Linked DNA regions of Homo sapiens: region 2 is linked to region 1. The links are contacts of gene promoters, found by promoter capture Hi-C in blood cells and fetal thymus (Javierre and others, 2016). All regions are on one chromosome and are shown on one strand. The core of a region is centred on a gene start or on the middle of the fragment in contact, and the rest is flanking DNA. Distances in the headings are between cores, read along the strand shown. Region 1 holds the start of FMO4 (flavin containing dimethylaniline monoxygenase 4). Region 2 overlaps PRRX1 (paired related homeobox 1).

Region 1 (6,052 bases), core at 1,591-4,090:
TCCTAGTAGATACAAAACGGCTTTTTCCCCCAATGGGAAGATAGAGCACAGGGAGCCACTCAGTTTGCTCCCAACACCCCTTTCCAGCCACTCACCGGAGCCACCTTGGCACGTACTCTAGGAGTATGGGAAAATGAAAACAACAAACTCACACACCTTTTTAACGTACACAACCAGTTCTGTCTACCCAGCCAAGACGTATTCTTCTTACATGGAATGTCAACCTATATCTGCCTCCCCACCAACTGGACAGGCACCTGCACCTTAGTCTTCCTAAGTCCCAATATAAACATTGCCCAGACCCTATCAGTGCTCCTCAAAGCACAAGTCCATCAGCACAGGGCCATACAACTAATACCCCTACTTATAGGGTTAGGAATGGCCACTGCTACAGGAACCGGAATAGCAGATTTATCCACTTCATTATCCTACTACCACACACTCTCAAAGCATTTCTCAGGCAGTTTGCAAGAAAGAACAAAATCTATCCTTACTCTACAATCCCAAATAGACTCTTTGGCAGCAGTGACTCTCTAAAACCACTGAGGCCTAACCTCCTCACTGCTGAGAAAGGAGGACTTTGCACCTTCTTAGGGGACGAGTGTTGCTTTTACACTAACCAGTCAGGGTTAATATGAGACGCCACCCGGCATTTACAGGAAAAGTCTTCTGAAATCAGACAATGCCTTTCAAATTCTTATACCATTCTCTGGAGTTGGGCAACATGGCTTCTCCCCTTTCTAGGTCTCATGACAACCATCTTGCTATTACTTGCCTTCGGGCCCTGTATTTTTAAGCTCTTTGTCAATTTGTTTCCTCCAGGATCGAGGCCATCAAGCTACAGATGGTTTTGCAAATTAAACCCCAAATGAGCTCAACTAACAACTTCTACCAAGGACCCCCTGGATCGACCCACTGGCCCTTTGATACCTAGAGAGTTTCCCTCTGGAGGATACTACAATTCAGGGTCTCTTCTTCACCCCTATCCAGCAGGAAGTAGCTAGAGCAGTCATTGCGCAATTCTCAAAAGCAGTTGGGGTGTCCTGTTTAAAGGGGGTATTGAGAGGTGAAGCCAGCTGGACTTCCTGGGTCGAGTAGAGACTTGGAGAACTTTTCTGTCTTACAAGAGGATTGTAAAATGCACCAATCAGTGCTCTGTAGCTAGCAAGAAGTTTGTAAAATGCACCAATCAGTTCTCTGTAAAATGGACCAATCAGTGCTCTGTAAAATGGACCAATCAGCGCTCTGTAAAATGGATCAATCAGCAGGATTCTAAAAGTAACCAATCGTGGGGAGAATTGAGAAAAGGGCATTCTGATAAGACAGAAACAGGACATGGGAGGGGACAAATAAGAGAAAGCTGGCCACCCCAGCCAGCGGCAGCAACTGGCTCGGGTCCCCTTCCACTCTGTGGAAGCTTTGTTCTTTCGCTCTTCACAATAAATCTTGCTGCTGCTCACTCTTTGGGTCTGTGCCATCTTTTAAGAACTGTAACACTCACCACAAAGGTCCGCAGCTCCATTCTTGAAGTCAGGGAGACCAGGAACCCACCGGAAGGAACTAACTCTGGACACAATATTTTTTTTTCTTTTTTTAAATTTTTTTCTTTATTTCTTCTAAAAAAAAGTGGGATGCATGTGCAGAACGTGCAGGTTTGTTGCATAGGTACACGTGTGCCATGGTGATTTGCTGCACCTATTGACCTGTTCTCCTCTAAGTTCCCTCTCCTCACCCCCTACCCTACAACAGGCCCTACAACATTCCCCTCTCTGTGTCCATGTGTTCTCATTGTTCAACTCCCACTTATGAGTGAGAACATGCAGTGTTTGGTTTTCTGTTCCTGTGTTAGTTTGCTGAGGATGATGGCTTCCAGCTTCATCCATGTCCCTGCAAAGGACATGATCTTATTTCTTTTTATGGCTGCATAATATTCCATGATATTTTTCAAAAGAAAATATTTGCTGCCAACAGAAGATTTTATATTAAAATCTGTATTTGCAGCTTTTACTGAAAAGAACCTAAGGCCTTGCCATATTGGGCTCATTTTCTCAAATAGCAACATTTAGCTGAACTGAATAGACAGAGAAAGTACTTTCCAGTCAGATCATATCTGGCCCACTTTCCTCGTGTATGTTACCCTCCTCACTCCTGTAGGCATTTGCATGTGTAGTCACAAGCAAATGTGGTTTAGAAATTGTTCAGTGAACCATGTTGGAAAATGTCCCTAAACACAAGTCCTAAAGATGGTCTGTTATATTATCTTACAAGCACACAGTGGAAGGAAAAACAGTTAAGTTTTCTATTTCTGCCACAGCTTCTATAATTATTACCTTTCTTGTGCCCTAGGTTAATATCTAAAAATAGCTTTATGCTTTCTCAAACACATTTCACCAGCTCCCTCTGCTGATCCAATCTGAAGGACAAAACAGCTTAAATTCCTTGTAAGTCCTGAACTTTAAAATCACATTTCTGGGGTTGGAGAACTCCAAGCATGAAAGAACTTGATGAGGTAATGGTCATCTAAATAACTTTCTCCTTTGGACAGCTCCTATGGTAATCCAAGCAAGAGTCAGGGTGTAGAAGTTTGTTTCCAAAAGTAGAACTCCTGTTTCGCTGAGAAAGCTGTAATTTGGGGTGATTTGGCGCCCTCTACAGACTATAATGGCAAAAGCGACGCTATCATGTGCTTCCCATAGCTTTAGGGCTTTGCCAGAACTATGACGTTGAGGAGGGTGGGGTAAAGGGGCAGGAAGCGTTTATGTTCTGCCAATCCAACAGCTGTATTCTAACTCACCATTCCGCCCTCCCTTAAGATCACGGAAGTATCACGCTTGCCTCTTACACAACTTTTTTTCCTTAGTCTGTATACTTTCTGCTGTCACTAGCATAACAGAAAAGACGAATGGCTTTTGTTTTAAACTGAGGGCACTTTTACAAAAGTCATCTTTCCATTTATTTTTCTTTCAGAAAAAAGAATTTGGGTTTTGAGCTTTTTTAAAAAAAAAAGACAAACACTTTCCTTGACTTTGAGAAATAATTTAAGTCAAAGAATCTGCTCTATGCTAACCAAGGTAAGTGTCCTGGATTTTTTTTTTAATGGGGAAATGATCCAGAAACTGCTTTCACAAAAGATGAATGTTTTTCTTGGAGTGTGTTCCTTAAGAATGAATGTGATTATCTTCTTTTGGGGTCTCTTGACTAGGGCTAAAGCAAGAGAATTAAGGAGAGAGTCAGGAAGCAAAGGGAAGTTGTAAGGAAACAAAGTTATGTTGTGGACAGAACCATCCAAAAGGAAAGTGTCAGTGAGATAAACAGAATCATGAGACTTTCAGTGACTCCAGTGACCTCTGATTTCATCTTATGAATGAGATGGAAATGCCAGCCATTGGGAAACAAATACCCCATAGATGGCGTGGGAAAAAAATACTGTAACAAAGCAAGAGCATGGTAGGATGATGATAAGAAACATAAAATGATCAAATTTCAAATTCAAAGAAATCATAATTGATTACATGATTTGCAAATCACCCAAGTCTCTCCATGTCTCATAAAGGATTCCTACATTTGCTGGTCAGTCAGGTATAGGGTGGGGTTTTCCCGTTGTACAAAGGTCTAGTTCAATAGGTCAGGTCTCCTTTCTGCCAAGGGACTAAATATAAGCAACCTATGGCTGGCACGGTGGCTCACGCCTGTAATCCCAGCACTTTGGAAAGCCGAGGAGGGCAGACCACTTGAGATCAGGAGTTTGAGACCAGCCTGACCAACATGGTGAAACCCCGTCTCTACTAAAAATACAAAAATTATCCAGGCGTGGTGCCGCCTGCCTGTAGTCTCAGCTACTCAGGAGGCTGAGGCAGGAGAATCACTTGAACCCAGGAGGTGGAGGTTGCAGTGAGCCGAAATTGTGCCACTGCATTCCAGCCTGGAAGACAGAGTGAGACTCCAACTCAAATAAATAAATAAATAAATATAAGCACCTTTGAGCAACCAAGTACCTTATGAAGTCCACTTTATAGTTTGCAGAGTTTGCACACACGTTCTCCCAATCCTTCAAGCCTGCAGTATTCTCGCCTACCTTTGAATTCATATCTTTTTTTTTTTGTGCACCAATTACTTGGTTTTCAGACATAAGAACAGTCCTTTCAAGCTTGAAGGAAACAAAGAGAAAGCCACTTGAACCCTCTGTTTTACAAATGTGGAAGCACTGGCTCAGAGAAATTGAGAATTGTGTCCAGGGTTACAAGCTGCTTAGAGGCAGAAGCAGAACTAGAACTCAGATCTCTCAATTTCCAGTTCACTCACTACCTTCCTCTACTGACTCAAGGCAAAATTTAAAAAGGTTGCTCCCATTCAGAAATTTATAGTCTGTAAATACGGATTAATTTTAAAAGGTGCTAATTCCCAATTTGTTTCTACTGCCTGTAGAGTCTCTAAGTCAGTCCTTAAAGTGCTTTTGCCCAGCACGTTTTTAACCCCACAGGCCACTCTGTGTCACTAACTAGGTCTCTAGACAGGGATAATAAACAGGCCAGGAGAGTGCAAGCATTCATGCCTAGAGCATGCTGCTACCATAGGACTTAGCACAAGGTAGTATCAGCCTCTCCATATACAACATCTTAAGAGCAGTCACGGTCTTTTTTAAATTCTAAGACTTTACTACTATTTCTTAGTTGCAGGGTCTTCATTATCTTCAGGGCCCCATACTTAGCTTAGGACCTGCACTTAGAGGTACCCAGGGCATATTTGTTGAATGAATTAATTTGCTTCCAGTCTATTCACGTCAGTATATTTTTCACTTTGGCAATTCAGTTAGCAGTCATTTCTTTTTACCTTATGATTGCAGAGATAGAGCACAGCAAAGATCTGCCAGCCCCAGGCCTCTACCTAGTGGCCTGGAAATTCAAGTATTCTTATTGGTGGAGGCCATTTGTTTCTGATTAGAAGCTGTCTAAACCTCCTACTCCTCAACTCAAAGGAAAACACAGGTATGTCTGCCTACTCCTTTCCAAACTTGTTGATACATTTTATCTGTATGAACTGTCTTTTCCAAGGAGAAGAGAAGGAAGACAGGAGACAAGTAGGGAGGTAGAGAATGAACACTGAGTAAATATTTTGTGCAAGGCACTTTTTTGTGTAAGTAATATCAAGTTTTTTAAAATGCAAACAATCCTTCAACATAGATATTTTTATTATTTTACAAATAATATATCTAAGGTTGCTTCAGTCGGTTGCTCAGGGTCATATGGCTAGTTGGTAGCAGAGAAAGTTCAAACCCAACTCTGCTGCCTCCAAAATCCATTTTCATTGCATTCCATATAGCTCTCTCAACTAAATAGGGACTCCCAAATAAAAAGTCTAAGAGGAAAAATGATGCATTTTTTAATACATAATGAAGCCAGGTATGGCAATCTCAGCCTTACAAAGGCAAGGCAGCAAATACATTCAGAAATTGGCAGCCCTAGGAAATCCTTCTGATCCTCATTGCAAGTTCATGAATCTGCCTTAGGGTCAGGTAAGTCTAAGGGTTCCTGGAGGACTCAGGAGTCTTTCTTTACTCCCTCCAGTCAGTAAATTCTCTTAGATTTTGTGCCTGGGGCTTCTGATCTGATTAAGAGACAAGCTACAGAGCCATAGAGAAAAACTCCAAGCCCATCCCAAAGGTGCAGCAGCAAACCTGAGCAAAGATGAAGGAAGAGGCTTAGTGACGGGAACCACAGGATACCTCAGGCTCTCAGACCAACAGCATGTTCACATCTTGGTTTCAGATCCTGAAATCCATACTCAGTGCAAACTCTGCCTCTTAATAGCAGTGTAGTCTTAAGTTGTTTCAAATGATTATGCTGATTTCCCATTTACTGGTCCTAATAGCTCAAAAAATATATGCTCTCTTGTTTCCCCAAGGCAAATACCACTGTGATAAGTGACATGAGACTACAAAAATCACACAGGGGTTATACAGCTTGATCTTTCCTCAAAAAATGCTGTATCTTCAAAGGCAAAGTGAAATGAGTTATATATATTTCATAAAACAATGGAATACTTTGAGGTCTCA
Region 2 (5,969 bases), core at 3,317-5,816, 620 kb before region 1:
CAGGTCTGTTCTAGTTGAATCTTTTTTTTTTTTTTCAAGATAGGAAGTAATCATCTACAACAAGTATTGGGGATTAAAATGGGTCAAATAGAGAATCTTCATGGAAATAAGTGGAAGAAACCCCTTAACGAACTAACAAATCCTCTCTCTCTCTCTCTCTCTCTCTCTCTCACACACACACACACACACACAGACACACGTGCACACGCACATGCATCTCTCACATTTTTCTGCAACTGAGACTTCTAGAATTTTTATATCATCAAAAGGCTTACCTTCTGCAGAAAGCCCTTGACCCTGAGGTGTCTTGGGAAATTTTAGGACTTGGCCTAATCCTATATATATGCCAGACAAATTTTGACAGCCTTATTGCTTTTCATCATGAAGTGATCCTGGAACTTTTCCTAAATATTCAGGCATGTTAACACCAGCATCTTGATTCACTTCCAACCCAACCTTCAATTTATTCCACTTAGGCTAGTCACAGCATTTTTCCCCAGTCCTTCTGTGACCCAAGCAATTCTGGGAGACTGCAATGTGTGCTGTTAATATTTGTAGCATTCTCAGGAGACAGAAGCTATAGAAAAGCTAAATACCATGGTTTTGTTATTACTACTAATTACAGGGCTCTACCTCAAAGGAATCAGGGTGAGAAGAGATGAATTAGCATTGATAAATGACTCGCAAAATAGAAAATGCTGTAGAAAGGTTCTAAATATACTATAAAGAGTGGAGACAGCATGCAAGTGTGATTAGGGAGGTGGGGTCAAAGAGAGAAACACTGGAATACGGGTGTACTTAGGGTCAGTATGACCAAATTCTAGTATGATGTAATTTCCTGCACATACCAATCTCAGAGGCAGGCTCTCAGGAAAGAGGATATTTGATATGGCAGTACAGCCTTTCTTATGAAGGGTACCAGGAAAGAACAACAGTTGACTTTTTTGCTGGGCTGTGATCTTCCACTTTCCCTATCCACCAGCCCCCACTAAAATCAATAATCACTGTTGTAAATAATTTGGAAATGTATGTTGTTAGATAAAACTTACTCAGCTAGACTCTTAAAAGAAAAACTATTAGAAATAAGAAATTTGATAGTGTGGATAGTATGATGGAAGCTGACAATTTATTATTTAAAATTTCTTTGGAAGTTGGATCGAAAAGATGAGAAGCTCAGACCTTGAATCAGACTAAATTTACAAGAGGAGACACAAGATCGAGGGACATTTATTCTCTAAGAAATCTGATCCGAATGGGGAAAATGAGATGTAGCGGCAAGGCAATGGGTCTGCATAGTATACAACTCAGGCAAGGTTTGTGCCCACAAAGAAAAATGGTTGGGAGCAATAATTCCATCTTATTTATACATATTTTATTACTAGTTTTTTTTTCATGTTTTCACCACACAGAGATTCCATGAAGCAAAGAGAGGCTTAGTTTTGTAAAGAACTTTGCAATTTTCCTGGAGGAAAGTTGTCGCCACGAAGGACTTTATTACCACATACTTTGGTTTCCAGGTGCAAGTGAGTCCAAACCCCAGGTGCAAATATATCCAAATTTCAGCACCATAAGGTTTCAGTTTCTCACTTGTGTTTTTTTTATAGTACCTGCCAACACATGAAACACGGTAGAAAGGTTTGATCAATTTTTTAAAATGAATTTAGGAAAAAATAGTAACTTACAGAAACTTTGAATTCAGAGTTGAAAGAGAGCTTATAAATGATCAAACCAAACCTATTCTGGGAGCCGAAATTCCTTCTCCAGTATTCCTGGCAGACAGGATCCAGCCTTGCTTCAAGATTTTCACACAGAACAGCTGTTTTCGTTGTAGAGTGGAAATGATTCTTATGAAATTTATATGAAAATTCTGTGAATGTCTATGTGTATGTGCATGCAAAATTTATATTTCCATCTAGGAGAGGCATATTCCCTATATAATTGCATTTGCTTATTCAAAAGCTAGTCACACGGGTTGAGAAGTATGAGGGTACTTATGGGGAAAATAAGACAGAATTAGGATAGTACTTTAAATCTGGGAAATGTGCCCACAGTATTTACCGCTGTTTTAAGAAAGCATATTTATGCTTTTAGTACCAAGCAGATCTTCTTGTTGATTCAGGACTTCTGCTATTTTACAATGAAAGCAGATTGTAAATGAAACTTTACTGATTTCCCTTTTTCCTTTTCCTGTAGTAATCAAATGCTCTCAGCCACTGGATCTAATGAGTAACAGCTGTGCTTGAAGTGGCCTTATAGATAAAAATTAAAAGTATGATAACATCTAAGGATTTTGTTGTTTTTAAAATAACGGTAGACTTAAGAATTAAGAGGAGGCTAAAGGCATCAATGCTTCTAATATGTCAGTCAGCCTCTTCATGTAGTAAGTTGGAGAAACTGACATAGTCTAACAATCCGATGCATTGGGAGATATGCTGTGGTGATCTGACCTTACTTGTAGTTGCAAAGACTTGCACTGGAAGAGTCTATCTCCTCAGTGATGGTGGAGATGGTTTGCTAAATGTCCGTGAAGGCCTGATTTGCAAGATATCCGATGTTGTTATGATTAAATGCAACAACCATACCCCATGAACTATTAGAGACAGAAGGAGCTAGAGAGGGTGCCCTTCCAAATCTCTTACTGGCAAAATGAGGAAACTGAAGTGATTTGCACAAGATCAGCCAGCTAGCTGCACAACTGTGACTGGAAACTGAGCCCCTACATAATGCTTATTATGTCCCACCAATGGCTTTCCCATAGCTGCATTATGGTTGTAGACACTCTAAACGAGATGCTATTTTAATACTACATACCTAAGGTTCAATCAGTTGGATGTTTTTCTCTTTTTACCAAAACCTTTTTAGAACATATTTGACACTAGTGTCATTTGTCTGTTGACATACGCTTGGTGGAAGGAGTAATTGTCCAGGGGTAGAAAGGCTATTCTTCTCTGCTGGGGATGTGTGGGATCCTCAGTCACAGTTGAATAGAAGAGAGTATTTTCTTCTTCAGAATCAAGACCACAATTTTTTATGTGGCCAGGCTTGAGTTTTTGCAACTTAATTAAACATATCAATTCCAATCAATTATATTTCCTATTAGTTCAAACACTTCTCCAGTCAACAACAAATCTGTAAAGAGTCCCTGAGTGCCTGCCCTCACTCTCACACACTTTTCTTTGTGTGATCAGTATGAACGTGCATCTTTTCCTTCAAATATCGTGATCCCCATCCTTCTTTTCTCTTTTCTCTTCTTTTCCTGGGTATGCTTTTTTTCCCCCCCTCTCTATTCTCTGAGACCTTTGATGGAACCTTTATTGAATGCATAGCACATGCTTGGAGCAATTTAGGATGACTTTTCTAGGATCATCCAGATGTCCAGTGTGGAGAAATAAAATAAAACATGCTTTTCTCTACATTTCAACATAAAGGCTTTGTTTGGCCTTTTAGTTTTCTCTATCTTTAGCAGTAGACATGTCCAAAGACCAGTACAGAAAAAGAGACAGAAGGGATCAGCATGTGCCTCACACCTGCACTGGTCACTCATTCAAGGTGCAAGGTAGGCAGGAGCAAAGGAGAGAGTGACACATGAAAAGTATCCGGGCCATATGGCAGTAGGACAAGCCAGGCATGCTTGTCTAGGTCTATTTGTAAACCCTGTGGGTGTTATCCCCACACTGCAAGAATAGTGATAAATACGTCATTAACCATGACCAGCAGAGATATGTCTATATTAGAGAAAAAGAGGCAACCCTGAATCTTAACATTATATTTTACGTCCTACATTGCCTATTCTCTAGTGTGCGGTTCTCAGAGAGGAATGTGCCACAGTATTCCAATAGTTATGAAAAGATAACATAAGGTGCAGCCAGCAGTCCAGAAGAGATGTGGTCAAGATTTGTCAAACTATTTGAAGTCGTTTATAAGTAAAAATACCTCACTCAATGATTCTTACGAATTCAATTTTCCAGTTAAAAAAAGGGCAAAGAACACATTTTGCCATTTGTGCTAGAGATTAATATCCCTTTATTTACATGCAAATTACTTTAAAAGGTAGGAAAACCTATAAAATTTTAAAGGTTCCACACTGGGGGCTTACACTAAGAGTCTTTGTCAAATAAAATGAATTCTCACAAATCTGCTTTGAGCTACTTTCTTTGCTTCTAAGCACAGCCTCTCTTAGAGGAAGGAAACAGTAAAGTTCTCACAGAGAAAGAAAACGTTTACCACTCAGTAAAAATCCCTGGGCCTCACTGTATGAAAGCTTTAATTTAGCTCGGCTCATTCCTCCATGAGTTAATTTAGAACACCAATGAAAGGAGATTATTTTTGGACTGAGAATCTGCCTGGCACATTTTTTGAACTTAATAGAGCTAAATAAAACTATCCAAACTCCTGTGATTTTTGGAGGAGGTCATCTACAAGCGATAGCCCTGTGATAGTTTTCATGAACATAGCAGACCAAACGTGAAGGAACATTCTCTAATCTGGAGAGATTAGGGGCCTCATACATGAATAGAGCCACTTCTTAAATACACATTAACTGGAAAAGATATGGAATGTGAACATGCATGCACACGCTCTCCAGGCAGGAGACAGCCAGGAGAAATGGAAAGCGCAGAGGCCTAGGAGTAAGATAAGCCATGTCTTTCTTAGCTTTGGCTGTGCTGGGGAACTAATTTCCATTGGGAAAACAGCTTCATCTCTTTGAGCATTAGTTACTTTTGTAAAATGGGAACAATGATCTCCCTTGAAGGGTTATAATATTGCATGTGTAAAAGTTTTATAAATACATAATCTTCCAAGTGTGATATTTTTGTTTTGATTTATTGACTTGCCTGTATTTTCTATTTTCTTATAATAATACATGTAAGACAAGCTTATCTTAAAGAATTAGAGAACTATATAGAAAGGAAGATAAGGGAAAAAGTCTTCATTATTGCATCATTCAGAGGTTTTTCTTCTAATCTTTGCATTATTCAAAGGCACTTTCTTCCAATCTTTTGCTGAACATTTTCTTATATAGTTAAGAATACACCATATTTGCAGCTGGAATCCTTAAAAAAAGATATATTTTATGTATCTGTAAATATACATATATTTATATATGCATATATATACATATACAAATATCTATACACATATATAGATATATAAATATATACATATATAAATATATATACATATATAGATATATAAATATATACATATAAAGATATATAAATATGTATATATAAATATGTAGAAATATATCTCTGTATAAATATATAGATATACAAATATGTATATCTATATATACATATATAAATAGATCTAGATCTATATATAAATCACTGTGTTCTTTTGTATTATTAAAAGGCCTTTATATAACATAATTTTTAATACTGCATATTCCACCTCCCCATCATCATCATCTTTATCTTTGTTAGTATCATCTCCAAGATCAGTATCATCATCATTTGTTAAACACTATGAGCCAAATCTTATGTAAGTGGTTTACACATATTACGCTATTTTACTTTATTCTCAAGAATTATTCACATTTGTAAATGGAGACAAATATAGCCAACAAAAACAAAAATATTGAAGAGAAAAATAATCATCTGTAAGCTTTGTGCCTCTGAGAGAAACTCCAGGACCATTTCAAACCAACTTAACTGGCAACAAGGTGACAGAAACACTGATTATTACCTTGTACTTTTTTGGAAAGTTAAAGCTAAATAAGGCTATATACTTATATATGTTTCTTGAAAGAGATTTCTTATCATTATATAACCACTTGAGAAAAACACTTTTTAAAAAAATTAAAAACTGAAAAACAAAGCGTCTCTTTATTTTTCGGATCCTAAAGAATGGAATCATTTAAAGATGGGGAAATGCTTCAGCTCAATGCAAAAAGGCTTCTTCCAAGAATACATAGGCACTATTCAGGGTTTAGAAAGTTGTTTTAGAATCACAGTAGAGGCCTTTTG

Evidence for each region. Contacts are between HindIII fragments. The CHiCAGO score rates a contact against its expected background, and 5 or more counts as called.
Region 2: a contact is called between a fragment that was not itself captured here and the fragment with the promoter of FMO4 in region 1, in 1 of 17 cell types (non-activated CD4 T cells). The highest score is 5.2, in non-activated CD4 T cells.

Annotation. Positions count from the first base shown.
Region 1 is chr1:171,311,343-171,317,394 of GRCh38, forward strand. FMO4 (flavin containing dimethylaniline monoxygenase 4) reads left to right here and starts at 2,841. Exons shown (of 10, transcript NM_002022.3): 1 at 2,841-3,071; 2 at 4,844-4,985. The HindIII fragment of the contact is 2,730 bases long and covers 1,416-4,145 here.
Region 2 is chr1:170,692,572-170,698,540 of GRCh38, forward strand. The region is part of intron 1 of PRRX1 (paired related homeobox 1); the gene reads left to right. Among named protein-coding and RNA genes, the nearest start is that of PRRX1, 31 kb to the left of the region's middle. The HindIII fragment of the contact is 615 bases long and covers 4,260-4,874 here.